3 separate regions of the Homo sapiens genome follow, and regions 2 and 3 are each linked to region 1. The links are contacts of gene promoters, found by promoter capture Hi-C in blood cells and fetal thymus (Javierre and others, 2016). All regions are on one chromosome and are shown on one strand. Each heading gives the region's core, a stretch centred on a gene start or on the middle of the fragment in contact. The rest is flanking DNA. Distances are from core to core; before and after follow the strand shown. Region 1 holds the start of TRPM7 (transient receptor potential cation channel subfamily M member 7). Region 2 overlaps AP4E1 (adaptor related protein complex 4 subunit epsilon 1). Region 3 overlaps AP4E1 (adaptor related protein complex 4 subunit epsilon 1).

The links. The method cuts DNA at HindIII sites, captures the fragments that hold promoters and counts their contacts. A CHiCAGO score of 5 or more calls a contact.
Region 2: a contact is called between a fragment that was not itself captured here and the fragment with the promoter of TRPM7 in region 1, in 1 of 17 cell types (M1 macrophages). The highest score is 5.5, in M1 macrophages.
Region 3: a fragment that was not itself captured here is called in contact with the fragment with the promoter of TRPM7 in region 1 in 1 of 17 cell types (M1 macrophages); the score reaches 7.2 in M1 macrophages.

What each region holds. Positions count from the first base shown.
Region 1 is chr15:50,685,085-50,689,254 of GRCh38, reverse strand. It overlaps TRPM7 (transient receptor potential cation channel subfamily M member 7), which reads left to right and starts at 2,458. Exons shown (of 39, transcript NM_017672.6): 1 at 2,458-2,724. The coding sequence starts at 2,722. It overlaps LOC128092252, which reads left to right and starts at 2,538. Exons shown (of 4, transcript NM_001414947.1): 1 at 2,538-2,724. The coding sequence starts at 2,538. It also overlaps the pseudogene RN7SL354P. RefSeq lists enhancers at 2,067-2,246, 2,557-2,976, 2,506-3,370 and a silencer at 2,337-2,506. The HindIII fragment of the contact is 16,005 bases long and covers 1-4,170 here.
Region 2 is chr15:50,973,902-50,978,071 of GRCh38, reverse strand. The region is part of intron 15 of AP4E1 (adaptor related protein complex 4 subunit epsilon 1); the gene reads right to left. Among named protein-coding and RNA genes, the nearest start is that of MIR4713HG, 62 kb to the left of the region's middle. The HindIII fragment of the contact is 961 bases long and covers 1,623-2,583 here.
Region 3 is chr15:50,946,291-50,950,460 of GRCh38, reverse strand. It overlaps AP4E1 (adaptor related protein complex 4 subunit epsilon 1), which reads right to left. Exons shown (of 21, transcript NM_007347.5): 11 at 2,302-2,441; 12 at 523-635; 13 at 292-410. It also overlaps the pseudogene DCAF13P3. Among named protein-coding and RNA genes, the nearest start is that of AP4E1, 40 kb to the right of the region's middle. The HindIII fragment of the contact is 678 bases long and covers 1,926-2,603 here.

The sequences.
Region 1 (4,170 bases), core at 1,209-3,708:
CTTGTGATCTGCCCGCCTCGGCCTCCCAAAGTGCTGGGATTACTGGCGTGATATTTTTTTAAGAGACGTGGTCTTGCTACGTAGTCCAGGCTTGAGTGCGGTGGCTATACACAGGCACTATCCAACTACTGATCAGCAGGAATTCTGACCTGCTCAATTTCTGTCCTGGGTTGATTCACCCCTCCTTAGGCAATCTGGTGGTCCCTTGCTCCCAGGAAGTCACTACGTTGATGCTGAACTTAGCACAGCCACCCAATCCGCATAGCACACTACAGCCCAGAACTGGGCTCACATGAGCCTTCTGCCTCAACCTCTGGAGTAGCTGGGAATACAGACATGGGCCACTGTGCCTGACTCAATACATATTTTTTGAATGAATAAATTCATTCTCCAGAATTGATTGCTGATTGAAAGTCAGCATCTGTGAATTTCAAGGCTGGTTGATCACTTGAAAATTAAGGAATTTATTTTGATTAGTTCAATTAAGGATAAATCCTGTTCCCCATTTCTTTTCTTTTTCTTTTTTTTTTTTTTTTTTTGAGACGAAGTCCTGCTCTTGTCCCCCAGGCTGGAGTGAGATGGCGCGATCTCGGCTCACTGCAACCTCTGCCTCCTGGGTTCAAGCGATTCTTCTGCCTCGGCCCCCCGAGTAGCTGTGATTACAGGCGCCTGCCACCATGCCCAGCTAATTTTTGTATTTTTAGTAGAGACGGGGTTTCACCGTGTTGGCCAGGCTGGTCTAGAACTCCTGACCTCAGGTGATCCACCCGCCTCGGCCTCCCAAAGTGCTGGGATTACAAGCATGAGCCACCGCGCCCACCCAATCCTGTTCCCCATTTCTAACTCTAAATTTTCCAATTTACCAAAGAGTTCTGGCAAGTGCCAAGGAGCTCATCTTGTTTCATTTCTACACCATCCAACTAAGGAGCGAAGCATTCGTGAGTACAAAAAGACCAGAGTTACAAAGTTCTAACGAAACAAAGCACTCTAATCTCATTTTATTTTGATTTTCCAGTTTGTCTGCCTCTACCTTCTAGATTATAAACTCCCTACAGGCAGGAAATGTGTAGGCCCAACTGAAATCCAGAAGATAAACATTTATTGACTGCATGCATAAATTAGTCAAGATGCCTTCCCCAAGGCTGACAATTTAGTGTGACACATATATTAAAACATTTTTAAGTCTTGGTTCTGCTGGACCTGCCAGATGGGGAAGAAATACACAATACCTGAAGATTGTTCACAAGCTGGGGGAACCAGTGGGTGGATTAGTTTTTTTTCTGAGAGAAGATCCTACTTCAGTGAATTGTGGGTCATAATGTTTGAGAGGCAATAATTATGCTGAATGAAAGAAGTTAGACGGAAAAAAAAGGTGCGTGCTGTATGATTCCCGTATATAAAACTTTAGCATGTGCAAACTTATCTGTACTGAAAGTAGATCTGTAGTTGATAAGGGACGTGATGGAGAGGGACGAGATGAAGGGATTATGAAGGGGGGGGAGGAAACTTAGAGGTGAATACGTTCATTTGATTATGGTGATTTCATGGGTGCACAGGTATGTCAAAACTTATCAAATTGGACATTTAAATACGTGCAGTTTGTCATGTCAATTATTTTAAAATAAAGTCGTTTTTAAAAAAGAGATAAGACAGTCAGATCCCTGAGGGTCAGATTGAGGAACTCTCGAAGACTTCAGGAGCAGAAAGATGTTAAAGCAGTTTTAAGAAAATTAAACTGATTGTGGTCTTCCCAGTAGATAAGGAATAACATTTAGTAAACCATTGCTAATAGCCAAACCTTGGCATGTGTGACAGCAAAATAAATGGAAAGGTGGATAGGTACATATTACATCAAGGGAACAACCCAGTTTTTGGTGCAGAAGGTGTGGTGTATGCGTGTATGTGGGTGAGTATCTCTGGAGGGAAAAAGACAGTCCCATAGTTAAACAAAGAAGAATATTTACCGGCAGCAACAGGAGAGGCTAGAGAAAGAACATGATTGGGGTAAAAAGATGATTCTGCATTTTGGACGAGGAGAGAGTAACATTTAAAGCCTCTACTCGCTCTGAAGCACACAGAGTGTGTTGCGACACTCGAGTTTGCTGGAGCGAGTCGGCACAGGCCAGGCCTAGTTAGCGGAATGAGCCCACACAGCAACTCCAGACTGGATCCGCAAGCCTTGAACCTTAACCCTCAACCTCCGATTCCCCAAGTTCCACTCTCGTAGCTGAGGCTGAAGTTTGTCTAAGTCCCGCCTAGGTACCCAACGGAGATACGGCGTGAACACCCCACCACTTTCTGGGAACCCAGAGGCGGTCGGCGTGGCGGCGCGAACCTGCCCAGCGCGTGCGCGCGGCGCGCAGGGAGGCGGCCTGGAATCGAGGGAGCGCGCGCCCTTCACGTGACCCGACCCGCGGGCGGCGACGCACGCGCCGCGCCGCGCCGCTCACGTGGTCCGTCCCCAGCCCCGTCGCCGGCGGAGGCGGGCGCGGGCGCGTCCCTGTGGCCAGTCACCCGGAGGAGTTGGTCGCACAATTATGAAAGACTCGGCTTCTGCTGCTAGCGCCGGAGCTGAGTTAGTTCTGAGAAGGTTTCCCTGGGCGTTCCTTGTCCGGCGGCCTCTGCTGCCGCCTCCGGAGACGCTTCCCGATAGATGGCTACAGGCCGCGGAGGAGGAGGAGGTGGAGTTGCTGCCCTTCCGGAGTCCGCCCCGTGAGGAGAATGGTACTGGACCCACGCAGGCCCGGGCGGGGAATGGTTCTGGGGTTGCGGGCGGTAAAGGAGAGACTTGGCAGGCAAGTGTGTGGGGAGCCGCGTTCCATGCGGCGAAGGACCCTCGAATTGCCTTGAGGCTTCCGGATTTGTCCTCTCGGGACGGGTGTGCAGTTCGTTCTGGGGTGAGGGGCGGGAGCAGGTAGCAAGTTAGAGGCGACACCTCTTCGCGGGAATCCCCTGAGCCGAGACTCGGCTCCCAGCGAGGGCCTCTCCAGGCGGCAGAGGCGCGAGCCCGGGACTACCTGGCTGGGCTCAGCTGAGCGGCCTCAGCGCGCCCGACGCAGGGCTCAGCCTACAAGCTCCGCATCTCCTGGGAGCACGGTCCTCCTGGCGCCAGTTGCTGGCAGATAAGGGAACCAAATGCTCTGCTCAAGTTTTACATGGAAAAAAGGGAGGGAGGGCTAGAAGGGTGCAAAAAGGGGGTAGAGGACACGGGTTTGGAGCAGTGCCTTGTTTGCTGTGCAGCGGATACTCTACAGGTACATTTCCTTTTTGGAACCAAAAGGGAGGGATTTGACAATATTGATGGTAGATCTTTTTTCTTTAGCAAGAATTAAGGATTTTGGTGGGTGGGGGGAGGCTTCTGTGGGGACCAAGACAATGTACTGTCAGTCAGGATTTAAGTCGAACTACCGCATCCCTTGCCCCAGAGAACAGTTGATCGTGTTTTAAACCGAAAGGTGCGGAATGGAGAGAGGGAGGCGGTGCATTGCAGCTTCCGATAGAGCTTTTTATTTTTGGATATCAGGAACCAATTTTGAAGATTTCTTAAGAAAGTCATTTACATCAGGGACATGAAGAGCAAAGTAGGTATTTTTGGTCAGTACTTGAATTTGATAGGCTTTATGCAAACAACTCTCCCTCTGCTGGAGTCTGGCAAGTTTGCTTTTCACTGGACGCTAATTCAAGTGCCATACAAAACTAAAATAAGAGTTTTACTTATAACACAAATGTAGTAATACTTTGAATAAATAATGTGTCTTTCACTATTTTCCACCTTATTCTTTTTTGTTTGTTTGTTTTGAGACAGGGTCTCACTCTGTCGCCCAGGCTGGAGTGAAGTGGCGCGATCTCCGCTCACTGCAACATCCGCCTCCGGGATTCAGGCGATTCTCCTGCCTCAGGCTCCCGAGTAGCTGGGACTGTAGCCACCATGCCCGGCTAATTTTTGCATTTTTAGTAGAGACGGGGTTTCACCATGTTTGGCAGGCTCGTCTCTTAATTCCTGACCTCAGGTGATCCGCCCGCCTCAGCCCCCCAAAGTCCTGGGATTACAGGCGTGAGCCACCGCGCCAGGCCAACATGGGAGATTTCAAACTTGCAAAGATACATTGTAGAATGAACTACCATATACCCATTGGCCAGTTTCAACAGCTTCAACCATGTGAATTTTAT
Region 2 (4,170 bases), core at 854-3,353, 290 kb before region 1:
AACATTTAACTACTACTCTCTGCAAATGATTACAGAAATCTGAAATCAGATTAGTACCAGAACAGGCTGGCATGGTGGCTTGTGCCTGTAATCCCAGAATTTTTGGAGGCAGAAGAGGGAGGATCACTTGAGGTCAGGAATTTGAGACCAGCCTGGGCAACAGGTGAAACGTCATCGCTACTAAAAATACAAAAATTAGCTGGATGTGGTGGCATGCACCAGTTGTCCTAGCTACTTAGGAAGTTGAGGCACAAGAATCGCTTGAACCCGAGAAGTGGAGGTTGCAGTGAGCCAAAAGATTGCAACACTGCACTCCAGCCTGGACAACAGAGAGAGACTCTGTCTAAAAAAAAAAAAAAAAAAAACCATAACAGATTGATAATTAAAAGATTCAAGAATTAATTCTTTATGCATAAAATACCTATTTCCCCCTACTCTTTATTTTGTCTTATAGCCAACCCCATTTCTAAGATATATAATTTTATAATTTATTCCACAAGTATTTATTAAATACTTGCTATATCTTGTCTCATAACCAATTTCCTTTTCTATAACAGTCTCCTGAAATTTCAGTTTTGCTTTAAAGGACTTTTGAAGCACACAGATTTGGGAGGAGAGAGGGAGAATCTAGTTTGAGCGTTTAATCCCATTTATAATGTGGTTCTATGGGAAAAAATGTACTTGGCAAAGGACTGCATAAGCTTGGGGAATTCCAGGGCTCTTGTATTTGTGTCAGCTATTTAGCTTATTTTAAGAAACAAAATAGGCAGTGCCAGGAAATAGTCTCCCTATTATATCTCCCCTTCCCTATCCAACCCTTGACTTCAGTAATGGCAACTGGTGGCCCCCAGATACCTGAAAATAAGGAAGTATGACAACGGAATCATACCTCCCACTGTGGAAACCCAGGAGCTTTTCACTCTAGGCCCTGGATGTCATAAGGCATTTATATGCAGTATAACCACAGGTTAGGCAATTATAATTCAAAAGTTTACTTTTTCCCCCAATATATTCTATTAATATATAAAAAGTTAATGAGAGGAAACTGATTACACTTTGAAAGAGAGTTTAAATTTTATAGTACATTAGTTATCACTGTGCTAAATAACATATAAAAAGCCTTAAAAGAAAGGGATTGCACAGAATACATGTACTTTCCAATCCATGAACACAGGATGTATTTCCATTTATTTGTGCCTTGTTTGATTTCTTTCATTAACGTTCAGTGGTTTTCATTAAACACAACTTTCTCACTTGCTTCAGTTTATTATTAGGTATTTTGTTCCTTTTGGTGCTATCATAAATTGGGCTGTCTTCCTAATAACCTTGTCACATGGTTTGTTGTTAGTGTACAAAAATGCAAATAATTTTTGCATGTTGACTTTGCATCCTACAACTTTCCAGAATTCGCTTATTACTTCTAACGGTTTTTTAATGGAGTCTAATTTAGGGTTTTCTATAAATAAAACCATATTATCTGCAAAGAGGAACAATTTTCCTTTCCAATCTGAATACCTCTCTTCTTTTTCTTAACTGCTCTGGCTAATACTTCCAGTACTGTGTTGACTACAAAAGAGACAAGTGGGCATCCTTGCTTTGCTCCTGATCTCAGAGGAAAAGCTTTTGGTTTTTCATCATACCATGCTATGATGTTAGCTCTGGGTTTATCATATATGGTCTTTATTATATTGAGATATTGCCTTCTATTCTTAGTTTTATTGAGTTTCTTTTTAATCATGAAAGGGTATTCAATTTTGTCAAACACTTTTTCTGCTTTTATTGAGAACTGTGTGGTTTTTATCCTTTATTCTGTTAACATGATATCACATTAATTTATTTTCAGATGTTGAACCATCCTTGGATCCCTAGGATAAATCCCACTTGATCATGGTGTATGATCCTTTTATTGAGTTCAGTTTCCTAGTATTTTGCCTATATTCATCAGGGATATTGGCCTGTAGTTTTCTTTTTTTTGTGGTGGCTCTGTCTGGCTTTGCTATCAGGGTAAGGCTGGTCTCATAAAATAAGTTTAGAAATGTTCTCTCCTCTTTAAATTTTTGGAAGAGGTTGAAAAGAACTCTCTCTCTCTTTCTCTCTCTCTCTCTCTCTCTCTCTGTCCCTTTTGTAGAGATGGGGTCAAGCTATATTGTCTAGGCTGGTATCAAACTCCTGGCTTCAAGTGATCCTCCCACCATGGCCTCCCAAATTGCTAGGACTACAGGCATGAGCCACTGTGCCCAGCCCCAATATTAATTCATTAAGTGTTTGGTAGAATTCACCAATGAAGAACCACAAAAGACCATGAATACCCAAATTAATCTTGAGAAAAAAGAGCAAAGCTGAAGGCATCACACTTACTGATTTCAAAATATATTACAAATCTACAATAATCAAAACAGCATAGTACTGGCATAAAGACAGACATAGAGACAGAACAGAGAGCCCAGAAATAAATCCAAGCATGTATAGTCAACTAATATTGAACAAGGACACCAAGAATACACAACAGAGAAAGGACAGTCTTCTCAACAAACAACATTGGGAAAACCAAATATTCACATGCAAAAGAATAAAATGGAAGCTTTATCTTATACCATACATAAAAATCAACTCAAAATGAACTAAGGACTTAACTGTAAGACCCAAAACTGTAAAACTCATAGAAAGAGATGAAGTTTTGCTCTTGTTGCTCAGGCTGGAGTGCAATGGTACAATCTCAGCTCACTGCAACCTCCACCTCCCGGGTTCAAGTGATTCTCCTGCCTCAGCCTCTCAAGTAGCTGGCATTACAAGCATGCACCACCACGCCTGGCTAATTTTGTATTTTCAGTAGAGATGAGGTATCTCCATGTTGGTCTGGCTGGTCTCGAACTCCCGACCTCAGGTGGTCCACCCACCTCAGCCTCCTAAAGTACTGGGATTACAGGTGTGAGCCACCGCGCCCAGCTGGTAAAAGCTGCTTTATGACATTGGTCTTTACAATAATTTCATGGATATGACACCAAAAATACAGGTAATAATAACAAAAATAAACAAGTGGCAATACATCAAATTAAAAAGCTTCTGCATAGCAAAGAAAACACTCAACAGAGTGAAAAGGCAACCTATGGAATAGGAGAAAATATTTGCAAACCACATTTCTGGTAAGGGTTAACCTCCAAAATATGTTAATCCTATGACTCAATAGTTTTTTTTTTTTAACTAATAACCTGATCACAAATAGGCCAATAACTTAAATAAACATTTCTCTAAAGAAGACATACACATGGCCAACAGGTATATGAAAAAATGCTCAAGGTTACTATTAGCAAGAAAATACAAACTGAAACCATAATAAGGCATCACCTTGTACCAGTCAGGATGGTGATTATCAAAGAAAAGAAAACATAACGTGTCAGGAAGGATGTGAAGAAGTCAGAACCCTTACCCATTGTTGATGGGAATGCAAAATGGTGCAACCACTGTGGAAAGCAGTATGGAGGTTCCTCAAAAAAATAAAAATACAGGCAGTACACAGTGGCTCATGCCTATAATCCCAGTGCTTTGCAACGTCAAGGTAGGAGGATCACTTGAGCTCAAGAGTTTGAGACCAGTCTGGGCAACATTAGGGAGACTCTGTCTCTACAAAAAATTAAAAATGAACCAGGCATGATGGCATGCACCTGGAATCCTAGATACTCAGGAAGCTGAGGCAGTAGGATCACTTGAGCCCAGGAGTTCAAGGCTACAGTGAACTATGATCGTTCTACTGCACTCCAGCCTAGGTGACAGAATGAGACACTGTCTCAAAAAAAAAAAAAAAAAATGGCCGGGCACAGTGGCTCATACCTGTAATCCCAGCACTTTGGGAAGCCAAGACAGGTGGATCACTTGAAGTCAGGAGTTTGAGACCAGCCTGGCCAACATGGCAAAACCCTGTCTCTACTAAAAATACAACAATTAGCCAGGTGTGGTGACTCATGCTTGTAGTCCCAGCTACCCAGGAGGCTGAGGCAGGAGAATCACTTGAACCCAGGAGGCAGAGGTTGCAGTGAGCTGAGATCGTACCACTGCACTCCAGCCTAGGCGACAGAGCAAGATTCTGTCTCTAAATAAATAAAAATACAACTACTATATGCTCCAACAATCTCACTTCCGGGTGGGTATTTATCCCAAATAATTGAAATCAGG
Region 3 (4,170 bases), core at 1,015-3,514, 260 kb before region 1:
TAGAGATAAATGAGTATTCAAATATTCAAACACGGATGCACATAAAAAACACAACAAAAACATTGTAAACACAAAGAGACAAGTAAATACCTATATTTAAAAGACCAAACAAGTGAGATGGCAGAGAGAAAAAACAAAGTAAATAGTTAAGTGATAGATGGTGGCCATTTGAAAAATTGACAGCTGAAGGAGTTAGCTGAGTAAAGCGAATGGTTTCTGAAGAAAATATGTTAACATTTGGTTTGTATTAAAAATGTTATAAAAATTTATGATTTAAGGTACTTTGCTCACCCAACTCATAACTTGAAGAAATCTCTGTGGATAGAACACATTTTCCATATCCAGTAAAGTGAGATAAGACTGAACTGCATAGAGTCTTAATTGCTGATCTTCTGTTTCATCATCAAAACCTACAAAGAAATTGATACACCATTTTAATTTCCACAAACTTATCTTAGGACTCTGTAATAAAAACATTAAACTTTAAAATGTTTACTTTACAGAATATAATAGTGTACCAACCTTCCGCTAGTAGTCTCAGAAAGTTATTGGGAATATCAGGATGCATTACATCTCCTCCTACTGAAAACACAGCATTCATTGTCTGAATAAACCATGCATTATCAGGAGCATATGTGTCCACAGTGTTAAGAACAAGTACACTTCCAAATGCTACTTATTAAAATTACCCTTCTGTAGCAATCTTTTAAAAAATAACCCCAATTCATCCTAGTATGGCAGTTTTACCTTTAACCTCTGCCATAAATTGTTCTGTACCCCAGTTTTATGTAAAATAGGTACTCAGTAGAAGCTTATTTAATAAACTTAATAAACTGAGTTTATGTCACTTTGGCACCATACTTGCACAAAACAGTCATCCAATAAATAAATGTGAAATAACTGAAAGAAACAAACCAGCTAACTAGATGCAAATAATGGAAAATTATATTCTTCAAAGAATTCACTTCAAAGAAGCTAAATATTGTTGTATGTCTACTTGAACAAATTGTTTAGTATCTTTTCTTTTTTTCCTTTTTTTTTTTTTTTTGAGGCAGAATCTTGCTCTGTCGCCAAGCCTGGAGGGCAGTGGTGCGATCTCGGTTCACTGTGACCTCCGCCTCCTGGGTTCAAGCAATTCTCCTGCCTCAGCCTCCCGAGTATCTGGGACTACAGGTGCACACCACCATGCCCGGCTAAATTTTTTTGTGTTTTAGTAGAGACAGGGTTTCACTGTGTTGCCCAGGCTGGTCGTGAACTCCTGAGCTCAGGCAATCCTCCCACCTCTGCCTCCCAAAGTGCTGTGATTACAGGTGTTTAGTCTCTTTTCTAATCTGTTCCTCATCAGTTCTAAAGTTCTATCATTCTGCTGGCCAGAGCTACAGCACTGACTAGGACAAAACTACACTTAAGCAATTTCCAATATAATTTCATTAACAGCATTCACTCACTCTTTTTTATAATTAAACAGTAACTTTTTTTTTTTTTTTTGAGACGGAGTTTCGCTCTTGTTGCCCAGGCTGGAGTGCAATGGTGCAATCTCAGCTCACTGCAACCTCCGCCTCCCAGTTTCAAGCGATTCCTCTGCCTCAGCCTCCCTAGTAGCTGGGATTACAGGCATGCGCCACCATGCCCGGCTAATTTTGTATTTTTAGTAGAGACAGGGTTTCTCCATGTTGGTCAGGCTGGTCTCAAACTCCCGACCTCAGGTGATCCACCCGCCTCAGCCTCCCAAAGTGCTGGGATTACAGGCATGAGCCACTGTGCCCGGCCTAAACAGTAACATTTTTTAATGAATGGAATATGCTTATGACCTGTAAAGTTCTTCTGACTTTTAAGAAACAAACATGAAGAAGAGTAACATGTTAATAGAGTTCCCAACTACTTAACTGTGACAATTTCCAGCTTAAAACAATAAAGGATAAGCTTTAGCATCCTGACCACTCCCACACACCCTCCACTTTCCCCAAAAAGCAAGAACTTTTACTCAGAAAAGAAATCAAGATAGAAGTAGAGACGAGGCAGGACTGAAAGAGGAAAAAGAGGATAAAGGTTCCTCTATCTTCCTGCTCAAAATACTGGACTACATGAATAAAAGAAACCAGCAAAAAAAAAAAAAAAAAAGCCATCTCCTAAGAGGTCTACACAAATCCCTTTTTCTGACAAGAGAGGCTTGAAAATCAGGAATAAAAAGTATTGCTAGGTCTCTGAACTCGACTTGCAAGTGACCATATCTATACCAATCATCTTAAAGTCACTGCATAACTAACTATTTTAAGACTCATGGTCGAAATAAAAGGATATTTCTCAGCCAGCTCTGCTATTTTGCCGACCAAATTGACGATGACATACTCTTCTTTGCTCTGATGTAAATATTCAAGCATTTTCTGGACAATAACTGTTATATTCTGTGCATTAGTAATTCTGTAAAGAAGTTCCAGAGTCTATTTAAAGAAGAAAAATTAAAAACAATATTATAAAACTATGCATAACACCAATGAGTACAGTAACATAAAGGTTGACCATACAGTTGATTCTTCTACTTTTATGGAGATCTACTGGGTAGTCAGTTAACAGGTAAGAAATGCAAATTTCAATGAAAAGCTTAAGAAAGGTAAAACTATCGTCAAAAAATGAATTATGATCAATTCCAATGTCTATAAGCTTCCTACTGAGATAATCACAACCTGACATCTCTACATGACAGAACACTTAGAGACTAAAAAGTTAAAATACAATAGATATATATTTTCTAAAAACATAACAGCCCTTAAATATACATTACCTACAGCTATGGGTGTATATATATGCAAGTGTATGTATGTGTGTATAAATCTAGTCTTGGAAACTATTTCCCATGCTACAGAAGACAGCAGACTATTTCCCAAACAACAGAAGACACCACTTGAGTGGGTTAGGTAATTGAAGGCAATCAGGTTTTGTTTGGATGGACAAAGACTGGTGGCTCAAATGCTTCAAAGCCTAGGTTCAAAATCTCAGTCATCAAGGAAGAACTGTTTTATAGCTACTTTTTTTTTTTTTTTTTTTGAGACAGGGTCTTGCTCTGTCATCCAGGCTGTAGTGCAGTGGTACAATCTCAGCTCAATGCAACCTCCACCTCCTGGGCTCAAGCAATCCTCCCACCTCAGCCTTCCAAATAGGTGGGACTACAGGCACGTGCCACCATGCCCAGCTAATTTTTTGGTATTTTATAGAGATGGAGTTCGACCATGTTGCCCAGGCTGGTCTTGAACTCCTGGGCTCAAGTGATCCTCCCACCTTGGCCTCCCCAAGTGTTGGGATTACAGGCATGAGCCACTGTGCCTGGCCTGTAGCTACTTTCTTTCTTTTCTTTTCTTTTTTTTCTTGAGATGGAGTCTCACTCTGTAGCCCAGGCTAGAGTGCAGTGGCAGGATCTCAGCGTGCCACCAAGCCTGGCTAATTTTTGTATTTTTAGTAGAGATCGGGTTTCACCATGTTGGCCAGGCTGGTCTCGAACTCCTGACCTCAGGTGATCCGCCCACCTCGGCCTCCCAAAGTGCTGGGATTACAGGTGTGAGCCACAGCGCACAGCTGCTACAGCTACTTTCTAAGTGCTGAGGAATATACCTCTTGCTGCTTCAAATAAGATGAAGGAAAACCAATACCAGAGTAAGCTCCCATTTGCATGGCTTGCCACAGCTCTAGATTAAGGTTTCAAAAATATAAGTCTCAGAAATCAATATGAGAAATACTGAGAAAGCATCATTTATTGGTGTTTTAGGATCAGCAATATTAGCTGCAAGATAATTTCCACATATTTGTCAAACTTACTCAATATATTTAGGGTTCTAATTTTTCAATCCTTACAGCCAGGACTTAAAGCAGAAAGGATAACATATTTTGAAAGATTTTTTTTTTCAACGCTGAAAGGAAGTTTTATTATCTTAACTTGACCCAAATTATAATATTATTTATAAAAGTTATATAAATGCAGACTGATGGTTTTGTAAGAGTCGAAAAGCCAAATATAAGTAAAGCACTAGAAATACATTCAGTTATAAAAAGTTGACATTCTTCTAAATGTTATGTGGAATCATAGGAAGAAACATCATTGTAATTATTATTCAAAGTAATGTTAAAGATAACATAAGAGACGTTTGGTCTTAAATGTCAATTTGAATGTGCAGTGTC